2 separate regions of the Homo sapiens genome follow, and region 1 is linked to region 2. Evidence: promoter capture Hi-C in human tissues and cell types (Jung and others, 2019). All regions are on one chromosome and are shown on one strand. Each heading gives the region's core, a stretch centred on a gene start or on the middle of the fragment in contact. The rest is flanking DNA. Distances are from core to core; before and after follow the strand shown. Region 1 overlaps CSPP1 (centrosome and spindle pole associated protein 1). Region 2 holds the start of TRIM55 (tripartite motif containing 55).

What was found. The method cuts DNA at HindIII sites, captures the fragments that hold promoters and counts their contacts. A contact is called where the count stands out against the background at its distance.
Region 1: a contact is called between a fragment that was not itself captured here and the fragment with the promoter of TRIM55 in region 2, in 1 of the 25 tissues and cell types used here (mesenchymal stem cells).

What each region holds. Positions count from the first base shown.
Region 1 is chr8:67,146,502-67,152,953 of GRCh38, reverse strand. It overlaps CSPP1 (centrosome and spindle pole associated protein 1), which reads right to left. Exons shown (of 31, transcript NM_001382391.1): 18 at 3,019-3,171. Among named protein-coding and RNA genes, the nearest start is that of CSPP1, 85 kb to the right of the region's middle. The HindIII fragment of the contact is 6,758 bases long and covers 354-6,452 here.
Region 2 is chr8:66,123,108-66,130,015 of GRCh38, reverse strand. It overlaps TRIM55 (tripartite motif containing 55), which reads right to left and starts at 2,887. Exons shown (of 10, transcript NM_184085.2): 1 at 2,580-2,887; 2 at 1,540-1,712. The coding sequence starts at 2,747. RefSeq lists a silencer at 3,069-3,341 and enhancers at 5,057-5,621, 5,445-5,694, 6,035-6,094, 5,622-6,187, 5,299-6,498. The HindIII fragment of the contact is 11,068 bases long and covers 1,285-6,908 here.

The sequences.
Region 1 (6,452 bases), core at 2,483-4,982, 1.0 Mb before region 2:
AGTGCTGGGATTACAGGCGTGAGCCAGCGTGCCCAGCCTAAAGCATGTATTTCTCGCATGTAGTTTTGTATAGGCAAATTGCTTTGCAGTTCAGCTACCACTCAGGTCTATTTTGCTTTTGTATTTAAATTTATTAATGCTTATTTGAACAGACTGGCAGAAAGCCAAATCAATACTTAAACATTATGAATACTTTTTCCCTCTAGAAAATTTTCCCACTGAAAACAAACTAAATATACACCTTGAAGGCTCTTTTAAATTTTATGCTGTGGTGGAAAAGCTGATTAGCAAAACAAACTTGAGTAGCATGTTTCACCGTGATGCTCACTCCTATTCTAAACCTTTGGGGCAATTAGAGAAGAAATATTATTAGAGACAGACAAGAGAAGTCCTTTTAGAAATGAATAAACTATAAAAGGAAAATCATAGGGAAACACTTGCTATATACAAAGAAAGCAGAAATGTATCTTGGCATGATAATAAGCCAAAAAAATAAATTTAAGCCAAATTCGTATTAGACTTCATAAGCCATAGCTCATCTAAAAACCATAAAATAAAAGAAAAAATAATGAACATTATAAAGGGCATCAGAAACAAACCTAATGAAGATAAAATATTAGAGGATAAGGAAACTTAAACACATGTTGTAACATTCAATTTTCAGCTATATTCAAGTTCCTTCAGGCTTTTAAAATATCAAATGCTACATATATGCAAAGATATGTGTGTCTGTGTGTACATACATACACATACATGCACTCATACACATATATATGGCATAGCACAAAATTAGGTGGCTTTGAATCATTTCTTGTATTGAGAAAGTTTATTTTAGATTAATTAATTCTTTTTTTTTTTTTTTTTTTTGAGATGGAGTCTCACTCTGTCACCAGGCTGGAGTGCAGTGGCGTGATCTCAGCTCACTGCAACCTCCTATTCCCGGGTTCAAGCAATTCTCCTGCCTCAGCCTCCCAAGTAGCTGGGACTACAGGCACATGCCACCACGCCCAGCTAATTTTTGTATTTTTAGTAGAGACGGGGTTTCACCATGTAGGCCAGGATGGTCTCGATCTCCTGGCCTCATGATCCGCCTGCCTCAGCCTCCCAAAGTGCTGGGATTACAGGCGTGAGCCACTGCACCCAGCCAATTAATTCATTCTTAGGGAAGAAAAGTCTAATTTGGGAATTTCAATTCACAAAAAAAAGGAAGTTTTAAACATTTTATGGTTTTTTTTTTACTCAATTCTTAAAACAGAACATCTTGGCAACAATATCAGCATAAAAACCTGGCAGTGGTACAGAAAGGCTATAGGCAACAAATTTTGCTGTGCATGTTTAATCATCAGGCTTATGCTTTTGGGAAGGGATCATGGGAACTGTTGATTTTCTGGTGTTTTTGCTTGGTGTGCAAAGCTAGATGGCTAAAAAGTGTTATTACTAAGATAGCGAAAGTTCTAGGCTGAGCCAGAACTACAAACAATACCAGGTATGGAAGAAAAGGGTAGAGAAAGACTCTGTATGGCAATGAGATCTCAATACAGACTACTAGAAGCAGCAGCAAATGAGAAAAATATCAGAAATAAGTCAAAATTCTCTTAGCAGCAATAATATGAAAAGGTGTTGTGATGTTCTTACCACACACTATTACAAATTAAAAGAGCCAAATCAATAATATTGTCAAAATCAAAGGTTCCAATTTTAGTGCTCTAAAAATCAAAACTGGATCCGATAAAATATATTGTAGAACAAAGAAAGCATTTTCTCATAATTAGAAAACACTGGTACAAGCTGCCCATGAAAACGGTAAATAATCCATCTCTTAAACTGTTCAAAAAGGCTACAGATAAGTGTGCTACCATCAAAGCCTTGAAAGATGCAGGGCTATGACTCTAATCACAGCTCCCCACTTCACTTATCTGTTTAGCCAAAAATAAGGGTTAAAAACAAAAAAGACTACATGATCAGTCACAAATATTTTAGAACTTCCTAATGAAAAGTTCTTTTCTAATCTAAAATCAAAACTTCTGTGAAAGCACAAAGTAGAATTTTGTAATGAATAAATGGCCAGTTTTATAGGCATCAAAATATAGTGTGAGGTGCTGTATTAAATTTTATTTTTAAATATATAACACAATTTAACATACCTGACAACTTTTCCTGGTATGTCAAAAAAAGATAATTGAATAATTTTCATCTTTCAGAATTGATTAAAGGATATTAATAGTAAATCAAAGATAAGTAGTTAAGAGGCATGTAACCAGGCGATGGCTCACGCCTGTAATCCCGGCACTTTGGGAGGTGGAGGCGGATGGATCACAAGGTCAGAAGTTCGAGACCAGCCTGGCTAAATGGTGAAACCCCATACCTACTAAAAATACAAAAATTAGCCAGGTGTGGTGGTGGGTACCTGTGATTCCAGCTACTTGGGAGGCTGAGGTAGAGAACTGCTTGAACCCAGGAGGTGGAGGTTGCAGTGAGCTGAGATTATGCCACTGCACTCCAGCCTGGGATAACAAAGTGAGACTCCATCTCACAAAAAAAAAAACAACATTGCTTCATTTCTTTGTACACTGTTGTTTTACAAGGGAGGGTAAATGATTACTAAAACAAGTAAAAAATGAATTTCCCTGTACAATTTATCATATCACAATGATACTGTTTCACTAATTCAAACAGCTATGGATATAAGATGCAAATTGTGTATGTGTGTAAAAAGAGTGTTTGATATTAAGAAATGTCCCCCACTAGCAAAATAAAAATGTTAGCAGCAGCTAAAGGATACACAGCAAGTTACAAAGCTGAGAAGAAACACAGTAGGAAGAAGTAACCTTTCCCTATTCACCTTTTTTCAAAGTAACTATGAAGAAAAGGCACTTTATGAATAGTGTGTTATGTTTCCTGTATCAGGATAGCCAAATTCTCAAGATCCCAATAAGAACTTAGTCACAGAACAGAAATGTTACTGAACAATTTCAGAAATGTAAAAAAAAAAAAAAAAAAAAAAAAGTGATTAAAAACCTGAGCTTTTATTTGCAGCATCTTCTAGGTTCTCAGCATTTGAAGTGGCTAAATTTGGGTCTAGAGATACAACAGCCCTTTTATCTTCATATGTTCTTGCATCTGGGTTATGGTAGGCATCTATATTTTGTCTGTGCATCCTATTCAAATCAGCTGAGAGGAAAAAATAAGCCATTTATTTCAATAAACACATTTCTGTAATTGGCATGCAAAATATATTTTCTTAAAATAGGAAGTCAGAAAGAAAAACAATAGGACAAAGTTGGGAATAATTCAATGATATGTTGGTGCCCTGAAAAGAGAAACAAAATTATCAAAACTTTTAAGATTTTCAAAAAATAATCCTTAAAAATAATCTCAATTAGTAGATAAATTAAGGACACATAAATCTTTAACAAAACATAAAAACCATATTAACAGTATCTATGTTACTTCAGAACTTAGAATTTCTTTAATATAGAAAAAATATAGCAACAATTTAAAACAACTCATAGTGTAATTTACCTGTCATCGGTCTCCTAATAACACATAATTATGTGGAGTGGAGTTTTAAAATATATTCACAAATTACTTGGCAATCCTCCCTCAAAGGGTAAAGCTAAATTCCATTCCCCTTCAGTGGTGTCCAGAGTTAATAACTCACTTCTTATGACTAGCATATTGCAGAAATAATGGTATATGACTTCTGAGGCTACCTCATAAAAGAAATTATTTCCACCTTGCTTATCTATGGATCATTCACTCTGAAGAAAGCCAACTGCCATACCATAAGGACACTAAGGGAGCCCTATGGAGAGGCCCATATGACAAGGAACTAAGGCCTCCTGAGCCATGTGAGGGAGCCATATTGAAAATGAATCTTACAGTCCCCATCAAGCCTCAGATGACTACTGCCATGGTCAACATCTTGGACTCCAACATTATGAGGGAGCCTGAGACAGAACCACCCAACTAAACCACTCACAAATTTCTAACCCTCAGAACCGCAAGATAATAACTGTTTATCATGCTAAAACACCAAGTTTTGGGTTAATTCATTACATAGAATAGATATCTAATACACACAGCAAAAATCTGAGCACCTAGAATTGGGTCAAACAACCAATCTCAAAAACAGAACTGAATGATTACAGAACTTAAAGCTTTAATAAAATAAAAAGTACCTGTTTTCCATAAAACAAACAAACCAAAAAACTGCAACAGTATGGCAGCACTGAAAGTGAACTTAAACCTGGATATAAGAAGTATTTATCAGGAAGCCTGTTATGTTCAAGAATGTATTTTGAACATGAATCACAATTAGAATTCCAGATAGAACATGGCAAGTAATACATAAATGCTACAAAAGAGAATGGGAGTTCAGAATCAGGAAGGTTCACATTCTGTTACAATATTTAGGGCAGCTTGGACTTGGAAAATGTATAGGAGCTTCACAGATGAAGATAAGTAGGAAAGCATAATAGAGAAATAGAACAATGTGAGAAAGCACTCCAAGTGGGTAAAGCATGATGAGTGTTCTGGCAACATTAAAGTAGTCCAGCTAGACTAGAGCATAAAGCACATGTAATAGAGCAATGGCAAATAAGACTGGAAACCATAGAATGGATACCTATTCTTCAATATCCTAAAACACATGTCAATGGCTCTCAATTTTGTTCTGTAGAAGGTAATGGAGGCAGTTGTGGTTGTTACAGAAGTGGGATTAATATATTAGTCTGGCCGGGCGTGGTGGCTCACACCTATAATCCCAGCACTTTGGGAGGCCAAAGAGGGTGGATTACTTGAGCTCAGGAGTTTAAGACCATCCTGGGCAACATGGTGAAATCCCATTTCTACTGAAAATACAAAAATTAGCTGGGCATGATGGCATGTACCTGTAGTCCCAGCTACTTGGGGGGCTGAGGTGGGAGGATCACTTAAGCCGGGGGGGTGCAGGTTGCAGTGAGTCAAAATTACACCACTGCACTTCAGGCTGGGTGACAGAGTGAGACTGTCTCAAAAAAAATAAAAATAAAAATGGTTGAGGGCAAAGAAAAAGATTTAAAGATCAATCTGTAGGGAAGACCTAAAGAGTAACACAGGAGTAAAAGAGATGACATGGAAGAGAATGGATGAAGGGATGAGAAACACACAAGGTCAGATGACAGTCCTTAGAAGAAAGATCATGCTCACAAACCTAGCAGAGTCTAACTCTAGTTCATAATGCACATCCAAAAAATATTAGCTGAAGTCTGGACAGCATCTCGGAGGATACAAAGGACTTAGAGAAAAAAAGGAACTGTCAAGCCAGTTCAAAGAAGATAAAAGATGAGTAAAAATCATTAAATTGAAATTAGGTCATCAGGCTTTTTGTTGACAATGTGGCATGGGGTGGTGGGGCGCGGGGGTACAAGCTAGATGTTATACTATGGAAAAATAGCCAATAAGAGGGTGGTAAGAAGTGACAGCAACAAGCATGGACTACTTTTTGAATGTGTTTTATATGGTAAAGGAAGCATTTGTCTGTGTTTTAATACAAGTGACCTAAGCATGTTCAGAGGTAGAAAGAAGAAATAAATAGAAAAAATGCAAAGAGAAGGGACTGGGTGAAACCACAGAAAAAGGTGACTGCAAGAAAATTCCCAAGTGCCAAGGACTGGCAAGGCAGATAGATATTCTTGAAATAATCTACAGCTGTGTTGCCAAACTAGTGAGTGCTTAGGGAATGCAATCTTAGTTTGATAGTCACCTGCACAAACCATACATTAGGAGATACCCTATATGTAAGCAAACTTCGATAACACATTATAATTTATTGTTGATTATATATGGACTTCTCAACTGGAATAATATTCAACATATTTATATTAAGAGAAAATTAATTTCATCAGAGTACATAATTATTAAGATTTAAGACTATCAGATTTAGCAAGCAAACCAAATCCATATTGCTTTTTATTGGGAAAAATGATTTGGCAACTGGCCACTCCTTTTCTGTCTTTCTGTGAGATGGTAAAATAAATGATTTGAAATCAGCTAAAAAACGAAAATTAAAAAAGGCACTTTGGTCAAGAGTGTAATTTGTCAACTGCAAAGATAGGACTTTATTTTAAATGTAAATCATCATAACATTCAATATAAAATTAGGAGCACTTACGTGCTCCTCACTGAGTGAATTAGCTCATTATAAAAAAATTAATTTTAATTAACTTCACAAGTTAGCTGCTACTCTTTATACTTTGGTGGAAAATACATATCAAAATATATTTTGTGAAGGGCTGAGATATGTTAAATGTTACTATAAACCCAGGATTATTCAGCAATTCATGGCTGACACAGAAACTCTTTTATAATGACCTAATTCAGAGAGCTAAGCAAAATTCCCAACCCTAGCACTACTAACAATACATATATCAAAATTAACCTAATTTAAAATATATACACTTACTTATAGA
Region 2 (6,908 bases), core at 1,638-4,137:
TGTTGCTTAATCAGCTGGGATTTATGGGGCAACTATTCTGTGCAAAGCACTGTACTAGCTCTGAAACTTGTTACGTAAGAATATTTGTGGTATTGCTTAATCAGCTGGGATTTATGGAGCAACTATTCTGTGCAAGACACTGGACTAGCACTGAAACTCTTGTTATATAAACTCTCTTAATATTAGGTTGGTGGCAAAGTAATTGCTGTTTTGGCCATGAAAAGTAATTGCAAAAATCGCAATTACTTTTGCATCAATCTCATAATTAATTGGTTTTTAATTGGCTGGTTAAGTTTTTAAGAGACAAGTGTGTATTTGTATTTTAAAGTAGTGAAATACAATGAGATCAAATCTGTAAAGTAACAGCAACAGCAATAGTACTTTTGTTCTTGTCAAGAGACTTTGGAAGCAAGGGAAACAGCCAGCTGCAATCTCTGCAATATGTCATCAGCAATTCTTCCCCAAACCCATCTAGATCCTGGTACTGTCTAATTTAGTTTTGGATCTTTAGCGGAAATTAATAGCTATAATAATTATAATAATTATGTTAGATTTATAGAACAGCTTTCCTTCCAAGAGCACAAGCCTCTTAGAGCTCTGCAGATGTTCCATAAATACGTGTCCCCTAATGGAATCACAATGAGGCCATTTCTAGATGGTCTCAATATTGCTATCAAGCTTTGTGGACTGGACTGACCTGCACACAATTGAAAAGGGGCTCTTCACACCGTGCCTTCTAGGAATAAGCTTCCCGCAGCATTGTGTCTAGGAAAGGAATTCTATAGCCAATGTGGTTTGGTGAATAAGAAGCCTTTTTTGTTATTTTTTAAAAATGAATGGATAGATATATAATGCTATCACGATGTTATTCACAATCAACAAGTGAATGCTGACTATGCAGTAAATACAGTATAAGGAATAGGGAAACATAACCTGAATTTCACCCTTTTTTTTCCTCATGGCTCTGAAGTTTAAGTCCCTAAAGGCCAGGGTTTTGCCTTGCTTTGTGACTTCCCTTAGAGTAAATACAGTGACAACCTATGTTAGAGGATTTTGTTTTTATTATCATCCAAACAATTTTAAGGCAAGACTGTCTGAACTAGGAACTGGGCTACTTCGGAAGATGCCATTTCTATTAATTTTCTATTAAGTATTTACTAGATTTTTTTTTCTTTGCTTTGTAGGGATCTGGAGCTACAAAGTGCCTGTGAAGTGCAAAATGTGTAAAATGGATGTAATACCAGGCTTTAAGGTGGAGGGGGACAGCAGTATGTCTCTTTCAGCATCACCATCTGGAATGGATTGGTGTTAATGAGTCACTTCATTCTTAAATTGATACAAAAGCATGGGCACCAACTCCCCTCTCTCCTGCTGTGAGCAACTCTCAGTCTCACTGGGAAGGACTGACTTGGAAAACCATTTTTCCATAAAACAGTCTGTGATTGATAAACAAGCATTCAGCGTAGCAACCCATTAAAACAAACAAACAAAAACAAGTTTCAGATGGGCTTGACACATGGAAGAGTGGAAGAGTGTTACCTGGTGGACTCCTGCTTGTAGATGTCAATGATATTTTCCACCAGCAGGTTCCTCTGAAGTCCATATACCCCATGTCTATCCAAAACCACTTCATGTCTACAGGATGGGCAGCGGAATCGGCCCCCTGATGCCATGGTGGTACCTCCTCTTGTGGGCAAATACGGGTTAGAGGCCTGTTCTTGCCAAGTAAGAAAAAAGGAATTGGGTAATGCCACAAGCAGCTTCTCTGAGACTTATTTTCACTCTCTGCTACTACAAACAACATGAACTTCTACTTTAAGCTTGCCATAAGATCATCCCTCAGGGCTTTCTCAGCAAGTGGTCCTGAAACACAGGGTCAGACCTTATCCACAGTCATCTGCGAATATACCATTGTCCACGTAAGGTGCTTTTCCGTCCACCACTTTCAGAACCAAAAGTTCCAGCCAGAAACTCCACACTCATGTCTTCAGCAGTTACTCATTTATAGTTTTGAAACACATTAAATGGTTTGACTTAAAAAAAAATATGATTCTTAGTATTAAAATAAAACTAGATTTGGGAGTAAAGAGGACACAAACCAAATCATTAAAAGAAACGTGTTTTTCTTGAAAGTAAATGCAACTTTATAAAGTTTTTTTGTTTGTTTGTTTTTCTTTTTTTGAGACAGAGTCTTGCTCTGTTGCCCAGGCCGGAGGGCAATGGCACGATCTCCGCTCGCTGCAATGTCCGCCTCCTGGGTTCAAGCAATTCTCCTGCCTCAGCCTCCCAAGTACCTGAGATTATAGGTGCCCGCCACCATGCCCAGCTAATTTTTTTTTTTTTGTATTTTTAGTGGAGATGGGGTTTTGCCATGTTGGCCAGCCTGGTCTCGAAGGCCTGACCTCAGGTGATCCACTGGCCTCAGCCTCCCAAAGTGCTGGGACTACAGGCGTGAGCCAAAGCGCCCGGCAACCTTATAAAGTTTTTTAAAGGATTTCACCTCAATGTTAAGCACTTGATTCCAAGAGGAGGGAATCTTTTCCACCCCCTCCCCTCAACCAAATTCCAAACAAACCTACCTGGAAAATATCACTGGCACATTTCCTACACAGGTTGTGCTGACAAGGGAGAATCACCACAGGTTTCGTGAACATCTCTAAGCAGATGGGACAGATGAGTTGCTTCTCTAAGTTATCCATGGTCTGCTGCTCTTTGGAAAAAGATTTGTAATTCAGAGATGCGCTCATCTCCTCGCTGTCCCCAAGTGTGCTGCCAGGGAAGGGTGCTGCGAGTGGCTCCAGCAAGTGTTTCCTGGATATTATTCCAGGGATTGTGTGATCAAGTGTCCTTTACGTTTCTCTCGGTGGAGGACATTGTTTCAGGCCCTGGTTTGGAGTGGGTGCTGGAGCTGTTTTTAGCAGCCTGCGGTCACGTGACGGTGGGCTGACGTGTCCATATAAGCCAGTGACAGGAGGATGGATCCTGACAGGTGACGGAGAGCAGGAGTCAACATTCTTGCCCCAGGGAGTGAAGAGAGTGGGTGGGAAGGAGGATTACAAACCCCATTTAGACGGGGTTGTGAGGAGAAGGAGGTCGAAGCTGACAGTTGTCAACAACAAATGCAAATGTGCATGCCTAGCCACTGAACCATGCCCTCTGTGAGCACTCACTGAGAACTTGGCGATGGCTTCTCCAGGAAGGGGCAGAACGCAGCACAGAGTCTGTGTAACTAATGCCAGCCCTGTCTTGAGAGTGTAGGAATTGAGTCACGGAAAGTAGCCTAATAGCACCTTCTTAGGTGAAAATGAACAAAACATGTCTCGAAAATTGTTATCCTGGCTTCACAAAGGCAATCATCAAAAAGACTTTCTTAATGTTAAGTATTTCATCTTTGTCAGCTGGGGTTGTGGTCTTTGAAAAATTCCAATTTAAAAGCTAAATTCAAATCCCTTCACCATAAAGGTATCCACCTAATAAATAAATAAATACATGCATAAATAAAAATTCAAAACCAGTGGATGATCTAATTATTTGAGAAAAAAGTTACATTATAAAACAACTCTAGTATGCTGTTTGCTCTTCCACATTGCTTTCCTCTTCCTTGGCCCTCTTTCATCCTATACTGCCCCACCTCCTACATACACCCAAAAACACAAAGAAAATTTGATAGTCTTTTACTGATTATTTAAATTCTTAAATTATATAATAGTTTGCAACAATAATCTGTAATGAGGTAGTAACTGGCAGGCACCTGGAGGTGGCAGATCTATTATTTTATTTTGTCATCCCTTGGGGGACAGTTACCAGTGCCATTGACAACTGAAGTATAAATGGAGTCCTACTTCCATATCTGCATTTCATCTGCCTCCAAAATACCTATTCTCCCTTGCATTTCCCCTTCCTCCAAGGTGACTTGTTAAACCATAGTTTCTCTGGTCATTTCTGATATTCTTGGTCTGCTCTTGAGTCATAAACATCGATTCTGACATTCATCAGGATTTTGTGAAGCAACAGTTTAACCAATACATATTGTATTTAAAAATGTTTAAATCAGATCAAAAATAAAAAAGAAATCCAAGTCTGTTTATATGTGATAAATTTCGGCTTTCTTTCTCCTTCATTTTAAAAACCTTGGGCAATAAACACATTTTGTTAACATATCCCTGGTGTGAATTAAATTACCAGTGAAGTGTAGGTCAGTTATGTGTGGTCTTAGTGCTGTGTGCACGGAGAGCTTATTGAGAATCTAGTAAGCTCTATTAACTAATAATAAGTTATATATATTCATAAGCATATCAGGGATCTTTAGAGAATTATCTTAGTCCTTTCAATATTTATTTAGCAACTACAGGGAGGACGGGAACTGGTAAAGTTTTTTTACTGAGTTACTTTGGTTCACCCAGCCTAGGCAGTTAATTGTGTTTATCAATTCATGGGCTATGGAGGGGAGGTCTGAGTACAATATGTGGGATATTTTCTAGGAAAGATTAAGTTTCTACTGCAAAAGACCTTGCTATCTAAGTAAAAGCACTTAGACTAATCATGCACATTGCAGCAGAGTCTTTTCTTTTAGAAGGAATTCATTCCTTCAAAATACATTCATTGGATATGTGTAGTGTGTCTCCATTGTGTGAGGCTCTGGGTATTGAAAGATGAACAAGACATAGGTCATTGGCCTCAAGGAGCTCAGTATAAGAGTGGAGATGAGACATGCACACACAGAACATAGTACAAAATAAAATGTGATAAAGAGTACAAGCCAAAAAGTACCTGAGACAGGTCTCAATCGAGAAAGTTTGTTTTGTCAAGGTTAAGGGCGCGTGCCAGGAGGCAGGCCTGCATCTTTCTCCAAAGAAGATTTCGAAGGCTTTAATATTTAAAGGGAAAAGAATGGATATTGGGGAAAGAGAAAAAAAATTTCAGTTGTGGGTAGATAAGAGGCAAACAGTTGCATTCTTCTGAGTCTTTGATCAGCCTTTCACCAAATACATAATTTACATGTTGGGGCTGGGCGGTGGGTAGAGGAATAATAGTCATTTATGTCTTCCTTTAGCTCAGTGAGTCTGCATTTTTACATTAGAGGAAGAAAGCAGATATGCATTTGTCTCAGGTGAGCAGAGAGATGACTTAGAGTTCTGTCCTTCGTACCATGCCTGTGAAGATAAGCTGTCAATTTACACTGTCAGGGTAAAATTCAACAAAACTGTTTTAGGGTAAAGATATTGGGGCCTATAAGGAATTTCCCAGTGTGCAAATTGTAAGGGAGGTATGTAGCGTTTAAATCTTTGTAGCTATCTTATTTAGGAATAACGTGGGAGGCAGGTTTGCCTGACGCAGTTCCCAGCTTGACTTTTCCCTTTGGCTTAATGATTTTGGGATACCAATATTTATTTTCCTTTCACAACAGCTACAGCATTTCAGGGTCAGAGGAATCAGAAGGGCTTCATGGGTGGGGGTAGTGTTTGAACTGCTGCACCGAGGATCTCAGAGGGATGGACGTGTAGTTAGGTGGGGCATGGCTGGGGCTTTCCAAGAGAAGGCACAGAAGCAGCAACATGGGCATGCACAGGCATGCAGGGGATCTCAGAGCCACGGTGGCTTGAGCTGGAGTGCAGGCACGCGCTCAAGCATTGGCTGGCCATGGATACTGTGCTAAAGAGTTTTTAACACTTAATAAGTTAAGCAGCAGGAAGTCGTTAAAAGTTTCTCACTGGACACTTCCGTGAGAGCAGTGGTTGGTTAGATTGATCTTTCAGCGATGATTGGGTTAGATTAGCATGAAGGTGGCTGGCTAAAAACCAGATCAGAGGCTGTTGCCAATAGTCCAGGTGAGAGGTCGCGAAGCCCTGGCACAGGTCATGGCAGTGGGGAAGGAAAGGAGGAAATGATCCCTGGGGCTGCTATGAAAGTAGAATCCACACAGATGACTCAGATGCCTGAGCCTGAGTAACCGACGATGTAGTGAGAGGCTGCAGAGTGAGTCAGAGACAGTCAGGCTTTCTCCCAGCTTCTGCATCTACCTCCCTTTGTGGTCTTGGAAAGTGACTTCACCTAGGAGGATTTCAGTTCTGCCCTCTATAAGTGAGTGGGGTTCATAACCTAATTTAGCAGTATTTGTAGAAAAAAACAAAAACCTCTGAAACAGAATTTTCTTTTAAGAGACAGAGGGTCACTCTGTTGCCCAAACTGGAGTGCAGTGGCGCAATCATAGCTCACTGAAACCTCAAATTCCTGGGCTCAAGCAATCCCCCCACCTCAGCCTCCTGAGTAGCTGGTACTACAGGCGTGTACCACTATGCCCAGCTAATTTTTTAAATTTTTTGCAGAGACAAGGGTCTTGCTATGTTGCCCAGGCTGGTCTTGAACTCCTGATTTCAAGCCATCCTCCTGCCTTGGCCTCCCAAAACTCTGGGATTACAGAGCTGATCTCTATCTTCCTTTCTCTCTCTTTTTTTTTCTCTCTGTTCTTTCTTGCTCCCTGCCTTTTACTTTTTCTTAGAACTGTCCCTGGAGGCTACACAGGAAAACAGCATGAATCCCACAGGAGTAAGAGCCCAGTTGATGAATGTCAATGAAAAAGAGTAAAACTCTGTAAAATATTTGAAAAGATTTACTCTGAGCCAAATATGGGGACCATGACCTGTGACAGCCCCAGGAGGTCCCGAGAACAGGTGCCCAAGGTGGTCAGGCTACAGTGTAGTTTTATAAGTTTCAGGGAGACATAAGACATCAATCAATATATGTGGGGATATACATTAATTTGGTCTGAAAGATGGGACAGCTCAAAGTGGGGGCTTCCAGGTCATAGGTAGATTTGAAGATTTTCTGATTGGCAGTTGGTTAAAAGAGTTAAGATATTATCTAAGGACCTGGAATTTATAGTAAGATATGTCTGGGTTTAGATAAGG